6 separate regions of the Homo sapiens genome follow, and all the other regions are linked to region 3. The links are contacts of gene promoters, found by promoter capture Hi-C in blood cells and fetal thymus (Javierre and others, 2016). All regions are on one chromosome and are shown on one strand. Each heading gives the region's core, a stretch centred on a gene start or on the middle of the fragment in contact. The rest is flanking DNA. Distances are from core to core; before and after follow the strand shown. Region 1 overlaps FAM83D (family with sequence similarity 83 member D). Region 2 overlaps DHX35 (DEAH-box helicase 35). Region 3 holds the start of RALGAPB (Ral GTPase activating protein non-catalytic subunit beta). Region 4 overlaps RPRD1B (regulation of nuclear pre-mRNA domain containing 1B). Region 5 holds the start of ACTR5 (actin related protein 5). Region 6 overlaps TTI1 (TELO2 interacting protein 1).

What was found. The method cuts DNA at HindIII sites, captures the fragments that hold promoters and counts their contacts. A CHiCAGO score of 5 or more calls a contact.
Region 1: a contact is called between a fragment that was not itself captured here and the fragment with the promoter of RALGAPB in region 3, in 1 of 17 cell types (naive CD8 T cells). The highest score is 6.7, in naive CD8 T cells.
Region 2: a fragment that was not itself captured here is called in contact with the fragment with the promoter of RALGAPB in region 3 in 1 of 17 cell types (total CD8 T cells); the score reaches 5.3 in total CD8 T cells.
Region 4: a fragment that was not itself captured here is called in contact with the fragment with the promoter of RALGAPB in region 3 in 6 of 17 cell types (neutrophils, monocytes, non-activated CD4 T cells and 3 more); the score reaches 15.9 in neutrophils.
Region 5: the fragment with the promoter of ACTR5 here is called in contact with the fragment with the promoter of RALGAPB in region 3 in 17 of 17 cell types (erythroblasts, naive CD8 T cells, fetal thymus and 14 more); the score reaches 13.0 in erythroblasts.
Region 6: a fragment that was not itself captured here is called in contact with the fragment with the promoter of RALGAPB in region 3 in 1 of 17 cell types (neutrophils); the score reaches 6.6 in neutrophils.

The regions. Positions count from the first base shown.
Region 1 is chr20:38,952,166-38,955,617 of GRCh38, reverse strand. It overlaps FAM83D (family with sequence similarity 83 member D), which reads right to left. Exons shown (of 4, transcript NM_030919.3): 4 at 2,512-3,452. The coding sequence ends at 3,098. Among named protein-coding and RNA genes, the nearest start is that of DHX35, 8.5 kb to the left of the region's middle. The HindIII fragment of the contact is 6,290 bases long and covers 1-3,452 here.
Region 2 is chr20:38,967,418-38,971,112 of GRCh38, reverse strand. DHX35 (DEAH-box helicase 35) reads right to left here. Exons shown (of 22, transcript NM_021931.4): 2 at 1,899-2,032. Among named protein-coding and RNA genes, the nearest start is that of DHX35, 6.9 kb to the right of the region's middle. The HindIII fragment of the contact is 1,686 bases long and covers 546-2,231 here.
Region 3 is chr20:38,471,294-38,474,783 of GRCh38, reverse strand. It overlaps RALGAPB (Ral GTPase activating protein non-catalytic subunit beta), which reads right to left and starts at 1,941. Exons shown (of 30, transcript NM_020336.4): 1 at 1,715-1,941. RefSeq lists a silencer at 1,661-1,860 and an enhancer at 2,151-2,220. The HindIII fragment of the contact is 2,916 bases long and covers 1,544-3,490 here.
Region 4 is chr20:38,037,874-38,041,416 of GRCh38, reverse strand. It overlaps RPRD1B (regulation of nuclear pre-mRNA domain containing 1B), which reads right to left. Exons shown (of 7, transcript NM_021215.4): 2 at 853-982. LOC124904898 (a long non-coding RNA gene) reads right to left here. Exons shown (of 2, transcript XR_007067579.1): 2 at 3,310-3,543. Among named protein-coding and RNA genes, the nearest start is that of RPRD1B, 5.9 kb to the right of the region's middle. The HindIII fragment of the contact is 2,555 bases long and covers 968-3,522 here.
Region 5 is chr20:38,746,264-38,749,714 of GRCh38, reverse strand. ACTR5 (actin related protein 5) reads right to left here and starts at 1,255. Exons shown (of 9, transcript NM_024855.4): 1 at 862-1,255. The coding sequence starts at 1,236. RefSeq lists silencers at 1,020-1,209, 1,510-1,779 and an enhancer at 1,158-1,659. The HindIII fragment of the contact is 9,906 bases long and covers 1-3,451 here.
Region 6 is chr20:38,018,196-38,022,007 of GRCh38, reverse strand. All of the region lies in intron 1 of TTI1 (TELO2 interacting protein 1), which reads left to right. Among named protein-coding and RNA genes, the nearest start is that of TTI1, 13 kb to the left of the region's middle. The HindIII fragment of the contact is 620 bases long and covers 981-1,600 here.

The DNA.
Region 1 (3,452 bases), core at 645-3,144, 480 kb before region 3:
TAGAGACGGGGTTTCACCGTTTTAGCCGGGATGGTCTCGATCTCCTGACCTCGTGATCCGCCCGCCTCGGCCTCCCAAAGTGCTGGGATTACAGGCGTGAGCCACCGCGCCCGGCCTTTTTTCTTCTTCTTCTTTTTTTTTTTTTTTTTTTTTTTTTTTGAGACGGAGTCTCACTCTTTCGCCCAAGCTGGACTGCAGTGGCGCTATCCCGGCTCACTGCAAGCTCCGCCTCTTGGGTTCATGCCATTCTCCTGCCTCAGCCTCCCGAGTAGCTGGGACTACAGGCGCCCACCACCACGCCCGGCTAATTTTTTGTATTTTTTTAGTAGAGACGGGGTTTCACCGTGTTAGCCAGGATGGTCTCGATCTCCTGACCTCGTGATCCGCCCGCCTCGGCCTCCCAAAGTGCTGGGATTACAGGCGTGAGCCACCGCGCCCGGCTCTTGCTCTTATTTCTAATTGTTGGCCACACTTTCAGAGAATAATGGTTTTGAGTCCTGCTCCACAAAAAGAGCACTCTGTGGTAGGTAGTTTGTGGTAAGCCATATACCTGCCCTGCTCTGAGAAATTCACTGTGATCATTACTTCAGAGTTCTGAGTAGTCCTGCATTAAAGAACTTTGTTTACATTTCTTTGGCCCAGTTTCTCACACTAAACACAGAACCTTTGTTATGTCATCCTATTAACAGTTCCATAGAACATTCAGTTAAAATTTCAAACTAAATTAAAATACATTATCACAGGCTGAATGCAGTAGCTCATGCCTGTAATCCCGGCACTTTGAGGGGCTGAGGCAAGAGGATCACTTGAGCCCAGGAGTTTAAGAGCAGCCTAGGCACCATAGTGAGACCCTGCCTTTACAAAAAAATAGTGAGCTGTGATTGTGCCACTGCACTCCAGCCTGAGCAATAGAACGAGACTGCTTCAAAAACAAACAAAAAGAAGTATCACAGATTAGGACTTTGTACTTACTTTTTTTTGTTGTACTTTGCTTTTTTTGCTGTTTTGTTTTTGTTTTGTTTTTTTTGAGACAGAGTTTGGCTCTTGTTGCCCAGGCTGGAGTGCAATAGCGTGATCTCGGCTCACCACAACCTCCGCCTCCCAGGTTCAAGCAATTCTCCTGCCTCAGCCTCCCGAGTAGCTAGGATTAGGGGCATGCACCACCACACCCAGCTAATTTTGTATTTTTAATAGAGACAGGGTTTCTCCATGTTGAGGCTGGTCTCAAACTGCTGACCTCAGGTGATCCGCCCACCTCAGCCTCCCAAAGTGCTGGGATTACAGGCGTGAACCACCGCGCCCAGCCTGTACTTAACGTTTGTTAATGAGGCTGTTTTAGTTTTCCATTCACCATTGCAGTAACTGCCATTTCTCAAGGTACACTCTCTCCTGCTTCCATACTCCGTGTAGAGAAATAGTCATGTAACAGAGTACTGCACTTAGAATCTAGAAACCTGTGTTTAAATTCTTGCATCACCATTTACAAGCCATGTCATCTTGAATATGCTACTTAATCAGTGCCTCAGTTTCATCTGAAAATTGGAAATAACAGCTACCTAACCTGCATAGCTCTCTGCTACATTGCTGCAAAGATCAAAGATGGCATATATGAAGTGACTTAAGTCTGTAAGATGATTTCAAATAACAATATGTTTACTCGAGGCTTAGCTCAGAGTTGTTTCTAAGCAGACATGGATCAATTTCCTTCCTTTCCTTTTCTTTATAGCCACAGATTACAGCACTAACCCAGCAAATAGCCTGACCATCATAAGGAAGTCCTGGCACACGCGTGAGTGTAGGGACACTCATGATACAAGTGCATCAGCATTTTATGTGGCAGACACCTTCCCCTGTTATAGATCTTTTTTGCTGTAGCTAAGTCAGGAGAGGGAGGAAGGCATCATTTAACTCTCTTCCCTTTTGTCTGTCCATGAGAATGAGACAAAAACAGGATTCCACAGCCATACCAATCCTGATTAGAAGGATGTAGAAACCATTACACTGCCTGCCACTGGACCAGGAAACTGGGATAATTGTCAGTGTCCTCTTTTGCCCCTACTCTGGGATATTAGATGGCTAAATCACTGTCAATACACCCAGCTGATGAAATGAGGCCCATGGGGCCACCAGAGTTAATATTGGGAATGAATATAGGAACATACACTAACGCCTCCTTTGGTAGACAAGCAGAGTACCAGAGTACCAAGGACCTACTGAAATAGCTCAGGCTTTTTCTTCGAAAAGAGAAAAGGCAGAGCATGTGCAAAGGCCTGCTATTTCTGGCCAGTTTCCTCACTTAAACTATAGAGTAACATCAATATTCATGATGCTGAGGAAGGTTAAGTGGATCTATTTTCTCTTCTATAGTTTGGATCATCTACTTCTTCCTCACCCTGACACTATTTAAAAAACCTTCAGATATAGATATCTATATACCTATATCTATTAGGTGCATTAATTTGTGACATACTCCCAGATTTAAAGAGAAAAGTGTCAGAGGGGGGGAAAAAGTACAGAAGCACAAGTTTATATTTATTTAATGCTAAGAACACAGATATTCTAAAGAGATAAACAGAAAGTAGTTTTATTTTTTCTAAATAGGATTTTGATCACAAAAATGCTGGTGATTCAAACCTTTAAAACAGAAGAGCATACAACCTAAGAAAAATGCAAAACAGGCTACAAACCTGTACATCATGTTACTGCACTGAATACTGTAGGCAACTGTAACATAATGGTATTTGTATCTAAACACAGAAAAGGTATAGTAAAAATACAGTATTATAATCTTATGAGACTGCCAACATATACGTGGTCTGTCATTGACCAAAACATCATTATGTAGTGCATGACTATTAAAATTGTGCAAAACAAACCCCTGTATCCATAGTGTTTAAACCATAAAACCAATACCTGGTATATACATGACAAAACAAAGCATGTAAAATAATATGCAGCCTAAAGAATTCAAAGACAACAAAGGTGACAAAGTCAGGTAAAAGAAAGGCAATTAGGGACATAAGATATTTTTTAAAGCAGGAAGCTGATGATGTCCACTGTAAGCCTGGAAGAAACCAGGAGTCTGAACACGGAGCAGTTACTGATAGGAAGGATAAAGTGCTACATCTCTAACAGCAAGCAAATTAACTCTGCTGAAATTGCCAGAATGAAGGCCAAGGTGGTTTTCAGTAAAGAGTGTTCTCCTTGACAGCATAGCCAGCATGTGGTTGAGCCGGGACCTGATACCAGCGAAGTGGAATTGCCGCTCTTTGTTCAAGTTTCTAAGTGAGTCACTCAAGTACAGTTCCAGGTGGGGGGTGCCCAGGTACTTGGGATAGCCAGGATTGTGGAAGTCAGTGGTTCTGATGGAAGCGGGAGAACCAGTGGAGCTTGCCACAGAGCCTTGGGAAGACACAGAGGAGGAAGACTTCAAACTGGAAGATCTCGATACA
Region 2 (3,695 bases), core at 139-2,638, 500 kb before region 3:
CCAAAGCCTATAGGATTACAGCCGTAAGCCACCACACCGAGCCTCCAATTTCTGTTTTTAAAGCTACTTTTACTTTTTGTTTGAAAGGGAAAAAGGATGGCGTAGAGGTAACTTGTTTTCCTTTTTGTCTCGATTCATCTTCAACATCTTATAAGATCTCAACTGTACTTAAACTCTGCTTTGCTTTATATCAGTAACTTACACCCTTCTTCTTACCATTTTAATTTCATAAACATTTCTTAACTTCTTGTTGCTTTTTTTTTTTTCATTTGCTGTTTCATTTATGTTATCTTGTAAGTACAGTTGGGAGACAAAGAATAGTCAAGAAAAGGCCAAAATTTAAATACTTGAGTAAACAGTAATTTCCCTTGTACTTGAGCATTTACTACATGTCAGGTATCTTGCTAAATGCTCTGCATGGATGATCTCATCTGGTCCTCATAACAGTCCTATGAGGTAGGTGCTCCTGTAGTCCTACATCACAGATAAAGAAAAGAAGCTCAGAATGGAGAAGTGAGGTCACACAGCACACAAATGGTGAAGCTTGGGTTTGAACCCTGAAGTCTAGCTCCAGAGTCCGGACACTTCATCACAGCTCAAACTGTCCCTCAGTGGTGAGAAAGCAATAGTAAACCTATCATTTCATCTCCTGAAAGTCAAACTTGCTAACATTCATACATAGTGAATGTGTTAGTCACTTGAGGAAGAAACCCAGAGACAGTCAGTTCACTTGTGACTAAAATATTGGGAGCCACATAAAACTCCAAGTAAGGCAATCTGGCTAAATTAAGAAGGCTGCTGTTGCCTATCTGTTTGGAGAAAGAACACATTAATAGAAGAGGAATTATCAGCACAGTCTAGTCAAAAGAACTCCATGAGTATAAGAACTTGGCACCTTTTGGCTGCTCACACCTGTAATCCCAGCACTTTGGGAGGCCGAGGCAGGAGAACTGCTTGAGCTCAGGGGTTCGTGACCAGCCTGAACAATATAGGAAGACCCTGTCTGATAGATAGACAGACAGACAGACAGACAGACAGATAGATAGAACACAGCAACTTTCACCCAGCACCGTCCAGGAGAAAGAAAGAGACACAGATGCTGGTGGCCACACCTACTCGGGTCATTCCAAGGGCATCCTGTGGAGCAGGGAGAATTCACCCCTCATCAGGGGCTGTATGACATTTCTGTAACCTGTCTTGGCTCTGTACTTCCTGATTACAATTTGGCTTCCCATGTGGATGTGCCAACAGGGACAAAGTGTATATGTCAACTGTGTCCATCTGTACTGGAGAATTATTGCTAGCCATAAATGAACAGTTCTGAATGAATTCTAGTTTGCACTTTGGTCTCTTGTAGCTGAGCACACATCTGTTTCGTGAGCGCTAATAAAACTGAGTGTCTGGATGTGCACTTGGTAAGTAGTAACCATACCAAAATCCTGTCACTGTCTCAGAGGAAGTCAGAGTATTAACTGATGTCTTCAGCAGAAACAACCTCATATTCCCAATTAAACTTGTTTAAAGGAGTGACTTTAAAAATAAAGCAAAAATTGGCCATATGTTGGTAATCTGTTATATAGAAATTAACTGCTATTTTCTCTACTTTTCTGTATATCTGAAATTGTCCACAGCTGAAAGGAATAAAGGGGAAAACAAAAGTCATTCTAATTCCTCCAGTTTTCCAGTATGTACGATGCAACTGAAAAAATCTTAAGGACTTTCAAGATTTATAAGGTTAACTAAAAAATACACAGTATGAAAAGTCATCCCTTACAGTAAGGGTTTCTCTGAGCTCACTGTGTTCTAGAAAGAGGCCATCATTCCCTTCAGTGCTGAGCATAAAGCTAATGCAGACACACGATTCAAGCCCACAGGTTGAACATGATTATTTGACGTACCTTGAATACCGGCAGCTTCTGCCTCTGCTGCTCTATGGAAAGGGCAGCATAAGGGTTGTAAACAACCGTTGTCCCAGAGTTTTCAGCCAGACTTTGTCTCTCTTCAGAGATGCTTACACCTGGCCCCTCTGTACCTGCAGCAGAAATGTTTTTTTTTCAGATTCTCTGATACAATGAACAGAAAAAGGTGTTAAGTTTATAAACTTTCAAAGATGAAGATATACAGAAGAAGCAATACTTTTTATCTCAAACTACTCAAAGGTATTCAACCTTAACTTTAGGAAAGAATCCAGAAAAGTGCCTACGAGGAACTAAAAATCTTCCCTAAAAGCTTCACTGCAGTGTCAAAAACAAACAAGACAGGGTTAGGTGCAGTGGCTCACGCCTGTAATCCCAGCACTTTGGGAGGCCGAGGCGGGCGGATTGCCTGAGCTCAGGGGTTAGAGACCAGTCTGGGCAACAAGGTGAAACCCCACCTGTACTAAAATACAAAAAATTAGCCAGGCGTGCATGGCGGTGTGTGTCTGTAGTCCCAGCTACTCGGGAGGCTGAGGCAGGAGAATTGCTTGAATCCAGGAGGCAGGGGTTGCAGTGAGCCAAGATCGGGCCCCTGCACTCCAGCCTGGGCGACAGAGCAAGACTCTGTCTCCAAAAAAAAAGAAAAAAGAAACGAGATGGCAGTCCCACTGGGCTCCAAATTGGCCACTCAGAACTGTGTATTACAGAGCACAGTGTCTTTACTTCTGGCCTCCATGTCCATGTTATTACTGAATTCTTAACAGAAGTGAAAGAAACCCAGTGGGAATTAGCTGAGGTAAAAGGATGAATCTTGTTACTGTAGGATGGCAATAAGGCTCAGAGATGACAGAAACTGGGCACTCAAAGCAGCCATGGCTTTCTCCTTCTCTCATCTTGGCACGTCTTGCAGGTTCCTTCCAGCCCCTTAGGTTGGCTACTGTACAGGAGCTGGAAAGACGGCTGCCGGCAGTGCCAGGGTTCACGCTTACAACTCCTCTACCAATCATTCATCGTGGTCCAGCAAGGACCAGCAAGGATGGACCAAGGGCCCACTCCATGTCACGTACCACTCTAAGCACTAGAAACACTGCAGTGAACAATACAGATGCCAGCCCTACCCTCACGGAGCTCACTTGCTTTTTTAATTCTTCCTCTCAGTGGAAAGTAACTTGGTGCATGAAGTGGTCATAAGTGCTATGGAGAGAAATAAAGACAACGTAAGGGGGACTGGGAGTCCCAGGTATGTGTTGTAATGGGGGGTGGGGGAGGCTCTTTTATACTGGACAGACAGGGACTGACTTCTCCCAGCTTAGGTCCAATCCCCACCCCAATACAATCAACCATGGCCAGTGGAATGGGATGAGGTAAATGACAGTCCCCATTGGAACCATGGAATCGGGAGTGGATAGATGGGAAATGCTATTCTCAGTAACCGCCATGCTGGGCAGATTAAACAAGAGATCTTCACCCCGGCTTCTTGCTAATAACAATGACAAACTGGTGATCATGATGGTGAAGAATAGGGAAGCCATATCCCATCATGAAAACCTGTTGAAGGTTCCATACAGTTTTAGCTCAAACAGAAAAACAACTCAGGAGAAACATAACTTTAAATTTTGTGAGCAGCTTCCATAACTTTTCATGCTGATTTGCTGCTGTAACTCTAGGACAGAACTAGGAGTAATAAGTAAATGACACAGGGTTCAGAATTCAACTCAATGTAAGGAAGATATTTCCAAAAGGTCACACTTTTCAGCACTGGAGTTTGCTGCCTTGTAA
Region 3 (3,490 bases), core at 692-3,191:
AAAACATAGTCCCTGCCCTAAAGCTTCTCATAATCTAGAAGTAGGGATAGAACTACAACTCAGAAAAATAACTGATAAGTTTCACTACGATGTTCCTAAAGAGCAAATTGGAAGGACTCAAGGTGGGTAGGGGTCAGGGACAGAGGTATCTTGAAGGGAATGCTTAAAGCTAATGCAGCCAGAGACAGGAAGAAAAGGGTATGTAGGCCTGGCACAGTGGCTCGCATCTGTAATCCCACCACTATGGCAGACCATAGTGGGTGGACTGCTTCAGCCCAGGAGTTTGAGACCAGCCTGGGCAACATGGAGAAACCCCATCTCTACAAAAAAAATTCAAAAATTAGCCAAGCGTGGTAGTCCCAGCTACTTGAGAGGCTGAGGTGGGAGGACTGCTTGAGCTCAGGAGGCGGAAGTTGCAGTGAGCCAAGATCATGCCACTGCATTCCAGCCTGGGCAACAGAGCAAGACTCTGTCTAAAAAAAAGAAAGAAAGAAAAGAAAAGGGTGTGTATATGCATATAGGAGAGAGCAGAAGTGTGTGCGTTTGGGTGGGATGGCCAGAACGTTCAGAGGATGGTCTAGGCAGACTTCCAGCATATGTAAAAACGACCCAGAGGTTACAGACGCTACACCTATAAGTACTGTATATTTAGGAAAATTGCAAACGAGCAGTTTGCATAAGATGCATACATTTTAAATGTTCCAGATGACTCAGAATCCCTGCAGAGAATTCCATCCCTAACAGTCTTTCACAAGGTGTAGTGGTCAGTCAACCTAAAGATCTCTGCGGGTGGAACCTGCAAGTTTAACAAGCTCCCAGACAATTCTCCTGCACACTTAAGCTGGAGAAAGAGAGATGCTTTTTGAGATGCAGAATTATCAAATTACATGCGGTTCCCAAACTTTGCTGCAAGCTGGAATCACTTGGGCATCTTTAAAAAAAAAATATTGAAGTCTGGCTTTCAACTCCAGACATTCTGATTGTTTTGGTCTGGGATGCCACATGGGCATCAGAAACCTTTACAATTTCCCCCAGGTGATTCTACAGTGTAGCAAAGTTGGAGAGCCACTGCCCTAATTGTTAAGCACTTGGGTCGGATGCTCCGGTTCAAATTACTAGCTATGTGACCTTGGGTAATTAAGTCACCCAACCACCCAGGGACTCAGTTGCCTCGTCAGTAAAATGGGGACAACAATCCTACCTCACAGGGTTGCTGTGAAGTTAGACGTGGAGAACGTAATGGCCTGGCATGATGCCTGGCGGATAAGAAGCGCTTAATGGGGGTTAGCTGTTTACTCCCATCATCAACTCTCCCTCATCAAAGTGTCACTGTGCAATGGGCAGCATCGTCCCCACTGGGCGGCAGCAACTTGCCTAACCTTTCTGCTGGACCAAATTCTTTGCGGGAGTTGTCTAGCTCCGCTCCAGACCCGCCCCCTCCCCCAGGTTGCCAGGAGAGAGCTTCGCCTGGCCGGGGTAGCTCCCAAGGATTAGACCGGGTTTACACAGACTCGACAGCAGCCGCCCACTCCAGGGCCAAGCTTTCCCCGCCCCCGTGGGTCTCCCAAAAATTTGCAGATGAGCTTCCAAAGGCCGGGCCCCTGGAGCACCCAGAGCCGAGAAACAAGCCTCAGCCGTCCCTTGACCGCCAGGTGGGGAAGAGAGGGAAGGAGAGGGGAGGGTCCGGCCGCGGCGGGGCCGGCTGCCCGGTTACCTGAGGCGACGGGCGGGGCCCGCATCGCCGGGGCGGGCGCCGCCGCCGGCCGTCCTCGGCCTTCCGCCTCACGCGACCCGCGCCATAGGGCTGGCGCTTTCACCGCCCTGGCCGGCCGTCCTCAGGCGGTCCGTCAGTCCACCCGTCAGCGACTCTCCCAGGGCGCCAAGGGACGACGAAGGCCACTCGAGCCAGCCGGCTGGGATCTGCTCAGGCAACTTCCGACTGCCAGGGGCGGCGGCGTCAAATAACTCCCCAGCCAAGTGGGCCACTGCGCGTGCGCGGTGCGCCTAATCAGAGCTTTCTACGGGGCTGAACCGGTGGCGTCAAATAATTCCCGAGACACAGAGCCGGAAGCTGCGCCTGCGCAGCTATCCCAGATCGCCGCGCGGGACGCATTGCGTTCCTCCCATTCCGGATCAAGTGGAGAGGGAGGAGTGAAGTGACGGATGCACCTACCTCATCGCGGCACAGAGGAGGCGCTCTACCTGCGTCCTTAGGAATCTTACGGCATCCACTCTACCTGCTTTCGGTGCAGACGGATAAGGGGCTTCTCTGCAAGATTCTGGCTCCCACCTAGGTTCTAGGAATTTCTCCCATCCCACCATTACAGCACTCTTCCTCTGAAATGATGCCCTTTGCTCGCCGCCGTCTTATTACACGGGCACAGCATTAATTATGAACAGTGCTCTATTCCAGGCCCGGTGTGGGTTACAAAGGTGAATCGAACATAAGATTTAGAGCCTCTCATTAAAGAGCTGAATCTGATCGAGATAAGACAGTAGTAATAATACTAAGAGATACTACTTCGAGCACCTGCCATGCGCTAGACATTTTGTAAACAGTACCACTTTCAATAATTTGCTTTCACTTCAACGAAGAAAATAATACCATTGGAGAGGTACAGCTTAAGTGCTTTGAGAATCTAAAGGAGGAAACTTGGACTGAGAAAGAAGAGGAGGGAGGGATGGTGGAATTCTTCACGGAGGACCTGGCCTTGAGACTGACCTTGGGTATTGAGAGAGGGAGGAGGGGTCAGGGTGTTGAGTAGAGGTGAAGGCACGGTTGTCTGAAAAGCAGAAGGGAGCAAAGAAGATTCTGACTCCTCACCTCAGTTAGAAGAGACTATGGAGGAATGAGTGATAAGGGAACTAGTATCCTCACAGAAAGGGTAAAACTGAAGAGTGTTTCCTCAAGACCACACCTCACCCCCCAGAAAAATAGCTACAGGAAGGAAGAGGGAAAAGGAGGGTAAGAATGTGCTAGGACAGGAACGAGGCTATGTCCAGGACACTGGATCCAAGCAATACATTTCAATTAAACACAGTGTGACAAATTATGTAGTTGGCTAACTCAAGATCTATTTCAACCACTCCCTTGCCTTTCTATACTACAGGGGCTGAAAAGCAAAGCACACAACTCTCAACTTTCTTTGCTGCTAAGGGTGGCAGTGAGACAAAGTCCTGGCCACTGAGATGTAGGCAGAAGTATCAAAGGAGACCTTCCCTTCCTTCTTCCCTTGGAGAAGTTTGTGTCCTTCACTTTTCCCCTGCTTCATGCTTGGAACTGGGTAACACCTGGGAGCACAGCAGCCTAGAGGCCATGAGGAGGGCTGTGCTGAGGAAGGTGGAGCAGAAAGACAGGAGCCTGTTTGTTTAAGTCATACTCAAGCAGCTACACAAACCCTGTACTACCTTCCTGTCTTATCGGGATGAGGGATCTTATATATACCAGAGTTTGTTGAGTTTTATGTTACTTGCAACCAGATGCATTCTA
Region 4 (3,543 bases), core at 996-3,495, 430 kb after region 3:
TTTCAAATCCTGCAATGAAAGCAGGACTTCATTTCTCATTTAAGGCCTTTCACTATATTTTAGACCTAGTAACAATTTATGTTTAACCTACTAGTCTCCCATTCATGTTTCCCAATTCCTTTTGCAAATATCTGTTTATATATTTACTTATAAACATAATATTCTAATGAACGATAGTTTTTCTTTGCTTTTCCTGGGCACCTAATTTAAGCCCACAGAAAGCTTTTGTTTTTACATGAAGTAAAGTAATTTATAAAACTTTTAATCCAATGTATGCTTTCTATGGTATTAGTTGTATGAGTGCCACTCCTCTCTGCCACAAAACACAACAGCACCAGGCTTAATACAATATAGCCAGAGCAAACACCTACTTTCTACACTAATAATTACTATTATTGCAGTTACAGTAATGCCTACTATTTTTAGTAAACTAGACATCTAGAAATCCAGAAGGAAATAAAAAGGAAGGCATTTGGCAATTAATTTCTTGCTATTAAGTTATGTTACTAAAAGGTTCCCTTACTAGTTAGCTTTGTTTTTTGATCATAAGCTGATGAGACAACTCAACCAAACCAAGGAAAATACCATAACCAAGAAATAAATTCAAAAAATGAAAATGAATATATCTAGAAGAAAGATAATGCTAGGCTGAATCTCTCAAATGTATCAGAATGTTTACATGTCTCGATAGTTCTTGAGGGCTCAACAAAACATAAAACCACAATTCGGCCTCCACAACTCTCTGTAAAGTAGGAAGTTGTCAATTTACAAAGGCTATCACAGAAAAGGAAAGAACAAAAAGGTGGGAAAGGCAATGAATTTAAAAACAAATCCAAAAAACAGACAACATACCTGGCAACATGAGAAAAAGCATCCACAAGGACAGATTCAAATTCTCTAGTGAATTCAGGTCCTTTCCTTTTACTGTTTTGGATGACATCATTCGCTAAATACAGAAAAGTAAGCTTTCTATTTGATTTGGCTGAAAAAAAGAAAAGAAAAGAATTTAACTTACACCAAAGAAATTCTCAATTCACAATTCTTTTGCCCTGGGCTGCTCCTAAAAAAACATTAAGACAAGTATTATCTACCTGGGGGGTCAAGTAGATATGTTTAAAAAGACCACCTAAGGAATAGGTTTGGGAATACCATTTCGGAAAAAAAAAAAAGAAAAAGAAAAAGAATGGGCCATCTTCATTGCTGTGTTGTTTAAACCAGGGTAATTAATTGATAGTAAAAATTAAGATAATCCAAAGAGAATTCCTAAAGGATAAGCAGTCAGTGTTAATGTTGAAACTAGGGCTTTTATTTATTCTACTGCAAAAATGAGCAACTTCTAACTCACTTTTAATTATCAAATATTTCAGAATGAAAGACTGAGTTGGCCGGACGCAGTGGCTCATGCCTGTAATCTCAGCACTCTGGGAGGACGAGGTGGGTGGATCATTTGAGGTCAGGAGTTTGAGACCAGCCTGGCCAACATGGTGAAACCCTACCTCTACTAAAGATACAAAAATTAGCCGGGTGTGATGGTGGGCACCTGTAGTCCCAGCTACTCAGGAGGCTGAGGCAGGAGAATCGCTTGAACCCAGGAGGTGGAGGTTGCAGTGAGCCGAGATTGCACTACTGTACTCCAGCTTGGGCAATAGAGCAAGACTCTGTCTCAAAAAAAAAAAAAAAAGACTGAGTTAGGTTTCAATTTTAAAATGGTTTCGCCGAGCGTGGTGGCTCATGCCTGTCATCCCAGCACTTTTGGAGGCCGAGATGGACGGATCACCTGAGGTCGGGAGTTTGAGACCAGCCTGACCAACGTGGAGAAACCCCGTCTCTACTAAAAATACAAAATTTGCCTGGCGTGGTGGCACATGCCTGTAATCCCAGTTACTCAGGAGGCTGAGGTGGGAGAATCGCTTGAATCCGGGAGGTAGAGGTTGTGGTGAGCCTAGATCATGCTGTTGCACTCCAGCCTGGGCAACAAGAGCAAAACTCCGTCTCAAAAAAAAAAAAAAGGTTTCTTGTAATTTTGCTCCTAAACTGAGAATTTCTCTGATACTCCAATAACCATAATCAATAATATAGAAGAATCTCTAGGTGCACCAATAGATATTAGCTCAAATACAAGTATACATTAACACTACACTCTTATTGAAAATTTACACACGTGTGAAATCTAGATATGCAAAATTAGGGCTTTCACAAAAACCATAATTCTCTCTTATTTATATGAAATGTGGTTATTCCCTATTACTCTATATGGTATCATATATTAAACCATAAAAACCTCGTGCAATATGTCTGAGTTACAGTTGCTTTGGGGAACATTACTGAATTCCCTGGCTTCTATGCACATAATTTCTCAACTATAAAGTTACATCCCTACAATTTTTGGTTCCAATTTTCTTTTAAAAGAAATAAATAAGAACATAATTAGATGTTTCAAAACACAAAGTTTTCTCCAATGCTAAAGTACCTGAAAAACACAAGCTCTTTATCAACCTTAACACACCTGAGTAACTCTATTTCTCTCTGAAACCAGTTGTTTCTTTTGAAATGTACAAAGCATTGATATGTCTGACATAGCAGGCATAAGATCTGACATTTTAAAATGTAGCTACAGGAGGCTGGGCACAGTGGCTCACGCCTGTAATCCCAGCACTCCGGGAGGCCAAGGCAGGTGGATCACCTGAGGTCACGAGATCAAGGCCATCCTGGCTAACATGGTGAAACCTTGTCTCTACTAAAAATACAAAAAATTAGCCAGGCGTGGTGGCGGGCGCCTGTAGTCCCAGCTACTCAGGAGGCTGAGGCAGGACAATGGGGTGAGCCCAGGAGGCGGAGCTTGCAGTGAGCCGAGATCACACCACTGCACTCCAGTCTGGGTGACAGAGCAAGACTCTGTCTCAAAAAAAAAAAAAAAAAAAAAAAACAAAACAAAAAAAATCAGCCGGGCGTGGTGCCAGGCGCCTGTAAACCCAGCTACTTGGGAGGCTGAGGCAGGCGAATCACTTGAACCTGGGAGGCGGAGGTTGCAGTGAGCCGAGATCGCGCCAACTGCACTCCCACCTGGGTGACAGAGTAAGAGACTCCGTCTCAAAAAAAAAAAAAAAAATGTAGCTACAGGAGAGTAACCCAAGTTAAAAACATGATTTTAATAGCACATTACAGTTTAAACTGATGAAACTGATGTCTTAAATGCTCATAAAATTAAATATGGATACCCTGAATTGTCTTAACCTTCTGGTAATAACCTAGTTTAGATGGCCAACTGATAAGAATACTAGGAACCTGGAGCTTTCTTCAACTTTCTAATTATTATTCAAAAGCAGAACAAAAGTGTCAGTAGTTACAATATCTACTGTTGCTACAAAGGTATGATTATGGCAAAACGTGCTTTTTTGTTAAAGCAAACCTTGCTCTGCAAAGTTGATGTAAGTGAAACTACTACACCTATAATCCCATGCAAGTTAGCAGATTCGAAAGCAAAACAGAACTTCAACAAAGCAAATTTCATTAAGTGAAGCTTTAAAATTCCATACACTTTAT
Region 5 (3,451 bases), core at 6-2,505, 280 kb before region 3:
TCATCTAAGCCACCATCATCCCTTACCTGGGTTATTCCAACAGCCTCCTAACTCGTCCCTGTTTCCACCCTATGATCCAAGACAATTCATTCTCCATACAGCAGTAATAGTGATCCTTTTAAAACACAAGTCAGGTCCTTCTTCAGCTCAACACCCTGCCATGGCTCCCCATTTCACTCAGTAAAAGCCTATAAGGTGTGTGATCTGCCTCTCCACTACCTCTCTGACATCCTCTTTCAGGTACTACTCTCCCCCTCACACAGGCAGCCTTGCAGTTAGGATTAGGGCACACTCCTGCCTCGGGGCCTTTTTACTGGCTGCTCCCTCTGCCTGGACCGTTTTTCCTTCAGATATTCACATGGCTTGCTACCTGAATCACCTCCTTCAAGTCCTTGCTCAAACATCACCTTCACGAGTCCTACCCTGACCATCTTACTGAAAAAATGTAACTCCCTCCTCTCCTATCACGGCGTAGAATCTACTATTTCTATGTTTACTGTCTGCCTTTTCATACTAGAATATCTTTCCATAGTATTAACAGCTCCATAAGCACAGGAAGTTTTGTGTTCACACATGTACTCCAAATGCCTAAAAAGTGCCTGACACAGAGTAAGTGCTCAATACGTATTTGTTAATAAATGGGCTTCTTAACAAACAAGCATATATGCCCAAAGGTATGCTCCAAGATACAAGGAGCAGCATTTTATTCGCTGCTACACCCACAGCGCCTAGCATCTGGTCGACTAAAAGACAATCGGAGCTACTGAAGTGACTGTTACCTCTCCGAGAGCAGAGTGAGCGGAGACGAGACCGCACCCCTCCCCTCAAACCCAGCCCAGCCCAGCCTACTCCGCCCTTCACCTGTGAGGAGACACCCAGGTGCTGGAAGCTGTAGTCCAGCAGCAACTCCTGAAGCTCCAGGTTGACCGGCACGTTGCGGTCGAAGGGCGAGCGCAGCATCCAGCGCAGTGGCTCCAGGCTGCCCAGAGCGTTCCCCACCTGCGGGCCCGACGCGCCCCGTGCCCCGCCACGACCGCGGGCGCACACCGCGCGGAACTGCAGGCGCGGCTCGGGACCTGGGTCCTGCCCGGGACACGCCCAGCCAGCGCGGACTTGGAACGACCCGTTGTCCAGCACCAGCGGTACCGGCAGTGGCCCGTGTGCCACCGGGCCGGCCTCCAGCACTGGGTCCGGTGCGGCACGGGCGTCGCGGAACGGGAACACGTTCGCCGCCATCTTGGAGCGCGCGTCCAGCCCCGCCCCTCGGCGCAGTGTCCGCCCAGACGCCGCGAAACCGCGCCCCCGACGTCACGCCGCGCGATTCAGGCCTTTAAGTACCTCGATGCCCCCTCCCTTCTCGAAGCCCGGCCAGCCTTTCCACTTGACTCGCCTCTGGCTGTCAAGGCTGCTTTCAGGATCGCTGAGACGTACCCATTCTGGCTGCGAAATTCTACGTTTCTTAACCTCTCCCCCAATAGCCTATGAGTGCCCACGCCCCTTCACTCTAGCCGGGACGCCCGGTTTGGAAGCCCCGCCCCAAAGCCTATCGCCGCCAGGCCCCGCCCCTTTCTGGCTGCCAGCTTCAGCGCCGCGCTCGGTGGAGCCCCGCCTCTCTGCCTGGCCACGCCCCATTGCCGGGCGCGCACCGTCGGCCGGGCGCGCACCGTCGGCCGGGCGCGCACCTTCGACCGCCGGCGGCCCCGCCTCCGCGTGGCTGTCTCGCCCTCAGTCTTGCGTCCTGGCTAGAAGGGTCCTTTATCTTTTGACGCTTCCTTTACGTTAAGAAATCTCAAACTCTGCCGACTGTTCAATTTCTTGACTAGGGAGCTGACTACTCAGTTCTGTTCACTTTACTAACTCGCACAGACTGTGTCTTCTCACTAAGACACAGTGTTTTCTCAAACCCTGAGAAAAGACTGCTGATTGTTCCCCAAGCATTCCCTCTCTTTTAGTGGCATCACCTCCCACTCCCACGTGGCCATCCGTCTGGCTGCGATCTAGATGCGCTCATGTGACTAAATTCTGGCCAGGAGCGGGTGGGAGAGGAGGCCATGTGTGTGACCCACTCAGTTTTAGCCCTAAAAGCACTCGTCGCGCTCTATCCTGTCGCATTTCCATCTTTTCACTAGCTAAGGGGGTAAGAATTAGAGCAGTTGTTTTACTACAACCTTTTTTTGTGCAGTGGGGCGATCTCGGCTCACTGCAGCCTCGACTTCCTGGACTCAAGTGATTCTCCCGCCTCAGCCTCCTAAGTAGCTGAGATTACAGGCGTGCACCACCACGCCCAGCTAATTTTTATATTTTTAGTAGAGAAGGGATTTCACTATGTTGCCCATGCTGGCCATAACCATTTTGAAAGAAGAAAAAGAATAGAGCAGCTGCCTTGAATCTACTCTACCAGGTCTATAACACTTCAGTTTGAGAGATAAAATCAAATTAGTTACAAAAGATATTGTAAGCGAGAAATGAAACTCCTAACTTATCTCAAGAACCTCTATTAACAGTGTTTGTTGTTGTTGTTGTTTGTTTTTTTTAAGACGGAGTCTGGCTCTGTCACCCAGGCTGGAGTGCAGTGGTGTGATCTTGGCTCACTGCAACCTCCACATCCCCGGTTCAAGCAATTCACCTGCCTCAGCCTCCCGAGTAGCTGGGATTACAGGCATGCTCCACAACACCCAGCTAATTTTTTTTATTTTTAATACAGACGGGATTTCGCCACGTTGGCCAGGCTGGTCTCGAACTCCTTGGCTCAAGTGATCCGCCTGCCTCGGCCTCCCAAAGTGCTGGGATTACAGGCTTGAGACGACGGGCCCAGCCTGTTAACACACCTAAACCAGATTGGGAGCCAGCCCAGTGGCAAAAATCAGGTTGTGTTGTCTTTCAACACACGTCCATTGTTCAGATATCTGAAGTAACCATCGTTAAGTTAATTAAGAGGGGGACCAGCAGAACACAGAAACCAGTAAATGTAAGTTAGTGAATGTTAATTTAAGAATTGTGTCTATGTATATTAATATGAAAAAGCACTGGCTGGGCGCAGTGGCTCACACCTGTAATCCCAGCACTTTGGGAGGCCGAGGCTGGTGGATCGCCTGAGGTCGGGAGTTCGAGACCAGCCTGGCCAACATGGTGAAACCCCGTCTCTAGTAAAAATACAAAAATTAGCTGGGCATGGTGGCAGGTGTCTGTAATCCCAGCTACTTGGGAGGCTGAGGCAAGAGAATCGCTTGAACCCTGGAGGCGGAGGTTGCAGTGAGCCGAGATCACGCCAGTGCACTCCAGCCTGAGCAACAAGAGTGAAACTTTGTCTCACAAAAAAGAAAAAAAGAAAAGCACCAAGGTAAATATATATATTATATATATTATTATTTTATATATATATGAGAGGCAACTCCAACGGGGATGGCCAGTGTGGTGGCTCATGCCTGTAATCCCAGCACTTTGGGAGGCT
Region 6 (3,812 bases), core at 41-2,540, 450 kb after region 3:
GATCCTTCTCCCTCTTCCTTGTTCGTATTCATTCTGTTTCCAAATTCCTTTTGCACTTTTTCCCCTCCCTTTTTCACTTCTTGATTGTGTGATACAGTAAGTACCTTGGGATCTAAGTATCTGTAAAGTATAACACCGTCTCCTGTACAGATTGTTCCATTTGTCTTCACCACCTTTACACCATGGCCCAGGGATCTTACTTATAGCCCACCCCTGTTACAAGTTAGGTAGAGGGGAGGGGAATAGGCTTGCCGGGGGCAGTGAGTTCATTCATGCTGTCCAATCACAGATCTCATCTCCCACCTCTCCAGTGCCTACTTGCCAACTACTTTCCAGGACCACAGTGGAGGGCCACTAAACTAGAAAGGGATTAGGTGTCCATTAGCAGTCAAGAACTGTTTGCTCATGCTTATGTTTATTCATGTTTATTCAGTCACTCTGAGCTCTGGGTGGTTTTGTCTACTCATCCAGAGAATCCGTTTGTTCTGAATGCCTCATCCCAGTATAACTTTCTGGACCAGAATGCCCCTGTTGCTGTTGGTTATAAATATCAAACTTTGGTGCAGCACCACTCTAAGTAATCAGGGTTGCATTTTATAGGAATAGAATGTAGGATTCCTAAGGCTCTAAATCTCTAAACAATTCTTTCTGTAATTGACATATTGTCACACAACTGTGATTTCATGGCCATCCCATAAAGCTATATGATTGCCTTTTATAGTCATGTCAAAGTAGCAATGTGTTATGCCAAAGTAGCAATGTGTTATGCTGTCTTCCTTAGAGAAAGCTGGTTTATATATTTCTGAGCCTATAACCCAGACTTTTGAAGATCTCTGATTGTGGTAAATCTTCATCTGTATAGTATTTCATAGAATGTACTACAGTTTATTTATCCATTCTACTACAGATAGGCATTGAGGTAGTTTTCATTTTAGGGTGATTGTGTATAGTAAATTCCAGAATATATCTTTTGATAAGCTTATATGTACATTTCTATTGGGTATATATCAAAGAATGGAATTGCTAGATCATAGAGCATATATATATTCACCTTTGAAATAATAGATACTGCCAACGAGTTTTCCGTACTAGCTGCACTGATTTATACGCCCACCAGCATTGAATGAGAGTTTTAGTTGCTTTGTATCCTTGCCAGCACCTAGTATTTTCCCTTTTTTAAATTTAGCTCTTCTCATGGATGTGTAATGATATTTCATTGTGGTTTTAAATTGCATTTTCCTGACTAATGATATTTAAAGTCTTGTCATATGTTTATTGGCTATTTGGCTATCCTTTTTTGTGATATGTCTATTCAGGTCCTTTTTCATGTTTCTGTTAGGTTGTCTTTCCTTTTTTAAATGATTTTTTAAAAATCTTTTGTATATTATAGATATGAGTGTTTTGTCAGATATATAGCAAGTATCTTCTGTCACTTTTTGAATTGCCTTTTCACTCTGTAATAGTGTCTTCTGATGAAGAGAAGTTCTTAAATTTTAAGGTAGTCCAATTTATCAGTTTTTTTCTTTTTGTGTCCTATTTAAGAAATCTTTGCCTACTCCAGGATCACAGAGATGTTCTTGTCTGTTTCCTTTGGAAAGCTTTATTGTTTTACATTTCACATTTAAATAGGATGTGATGGAATCAAGATACATACATATATATATATATATATATATATATATATTTTTTTTTTTTTTCATATGAGTAGCCAAGTGACATAGCACCTTTAATTGAAAAGGCCATTCTTTTCACCCCTTCATTTTACTGTCATATTTGTCAGGTGTGTAGCTGGACTCTCTATTCTATGTGTGGTCTATTTCTGAACTCTGTTCTGTTCATTTTTCTTTATGCCAAGTATACACTGTCCTTTAATTATTGTATCTTTATAGTAAACCTTGAAATCAGTTAGTGTAAGTTCTGTAACTGCATTCTTATTTTTGAAGATTGTCTTTTCTATTTTGGGTCCTTTGCATTTCTCTATCAGTTTTAGACTCATCATATTTCTGCAGAAATCCTACTGGGATTTTGATTAGGATTATGCTGACTCTACCAATGGTACCAAATCCAGGGACAATTTTTGTCCTTGACAGGACATCTAGCAATGTCTGGAGACATTTTTGTTTGTTACACCTGGGTTGGTGCTACTAGCAGCAGATAGATGGATGGCCAAGATACAGAGGCCAAGGATGCTGCTAAATGCCCTGCAATGCACAAGACAGCCCTCCACCAACAAGTAATTATCCCACCCAAAATGTCAATAGTGCTGCTGTTGAGAAACTCTGCACAAATGTAATCGCTGTTTTAGTTGTACTTCAGACTTCTGTCTGCCATCTTACTTTTTGTTTTCAATTTGGCTCACTAGTTTTATTTCTTTTTTTTTGCATTTTTGCCCTTTTTTTGATTAATCAAAAATAGTATCCCATTTTTTACTGCCCTGTAATCTTGTTAGGTAGCTATTCTTTTACAATTATCTTAGAGCTTACTCTACAGATTTCAACATGCATTTAACATCTTGACATGTTATGGTCTAATACAGATTATTTTATCACTTCATTACACTACTAGACTCTTAGACACTTAACTCCTTCCCCCTCCCTACCTTTTGTGAATTATTCTTGTCTTGCATTTTAGTTTTATATATACACAAACTACAGAAGACATAATAGTTATTGTTTTGTACAGTTAATTTTTTTATATTTACCTATTTCATTTTCTTCATTCCCTCTTATAGTTCCATGCTTCTGTCTAGGTTTATTTTCTTACATTGTTTTTTCTTTTAGTGTTGCCCTGATAGCAATGAATTCCCTCAGGTTTTGTTTGTTGTAAATATCTGAATTTCACCCTTGTTTTTTTTTTTTTTTAGACCTGCTCACTCTGTCACCGAGGCTAGAGTACAGTGGCACAATCACAGCTCATTGCAGCCTCAACCTCCCAGGCTCAATCGATCCTTCCAACTGAGCCTCCCTAGCAGCTGGGACTATTAGTGCACACCACCACACCTAGGTAATTTTTGTATTTTTTGTAGCGATGGAGTTTCGCCATGTTGCTTAGGTTGGTTTCAAACTCCTGGGCTCAAGTGATCCACCCACCGCAGCCTCTCAAAGTGCTGGGATTATAGGTGTGAGCCACCCATGCCCAGCCTTACCTTTTTATTGAAAGATGTTGTTTTTATAGGCTGTAAAATTCAAAGTTGGTTCCCTAGTCCATAGATTAAAAAAAAAAAAAATCAAAGTTGGGAATTATTTTCTTTAGATAGCATTCTATTGACTCCTGGATTTTGTCATTTCTTTTGAGAAGTCAGCTGTCATTTTTATTGCTTCACTGCTTTTTAAGGTTTTCCTCTTTTTCTTTGTTTTTCAGCAGTTTGACTATGATGTCTGTGTGTTCTTTTCTTTGTATTGGCCAAATAATTGGGTTGCTGAGTTTCTTAAATCTGTGGGTTGATCTCTTTCATTTGTTTTGAACATTTTAGTATTGCTTCTGCTCTATGCTGTCTTCTGAGACTCATTTATTCACGTCTTTTATTCCACGTCTTTTATGTTCTTATCTGTGTTTACCATTCATTTTTCTAATTGAGTTTGAATATTTTTTATTGACCTATCTTCCAAATCATTAATCTTGTCTCCTGCTAAGTCCAATTTACTGTTAATATCTTATATTAAATTCTTAATTATAGATACTGTAGTTCTCAGTTCTAAAGTATCCATTTGATTTTTTTTATAGATTTCAGCCAATTCTGTGATAAAATTATTTATCCTTTCATTTACTTTGGTCTTTTCCTCTGTTTCTTGACTTTATTAATCTTGGTTATT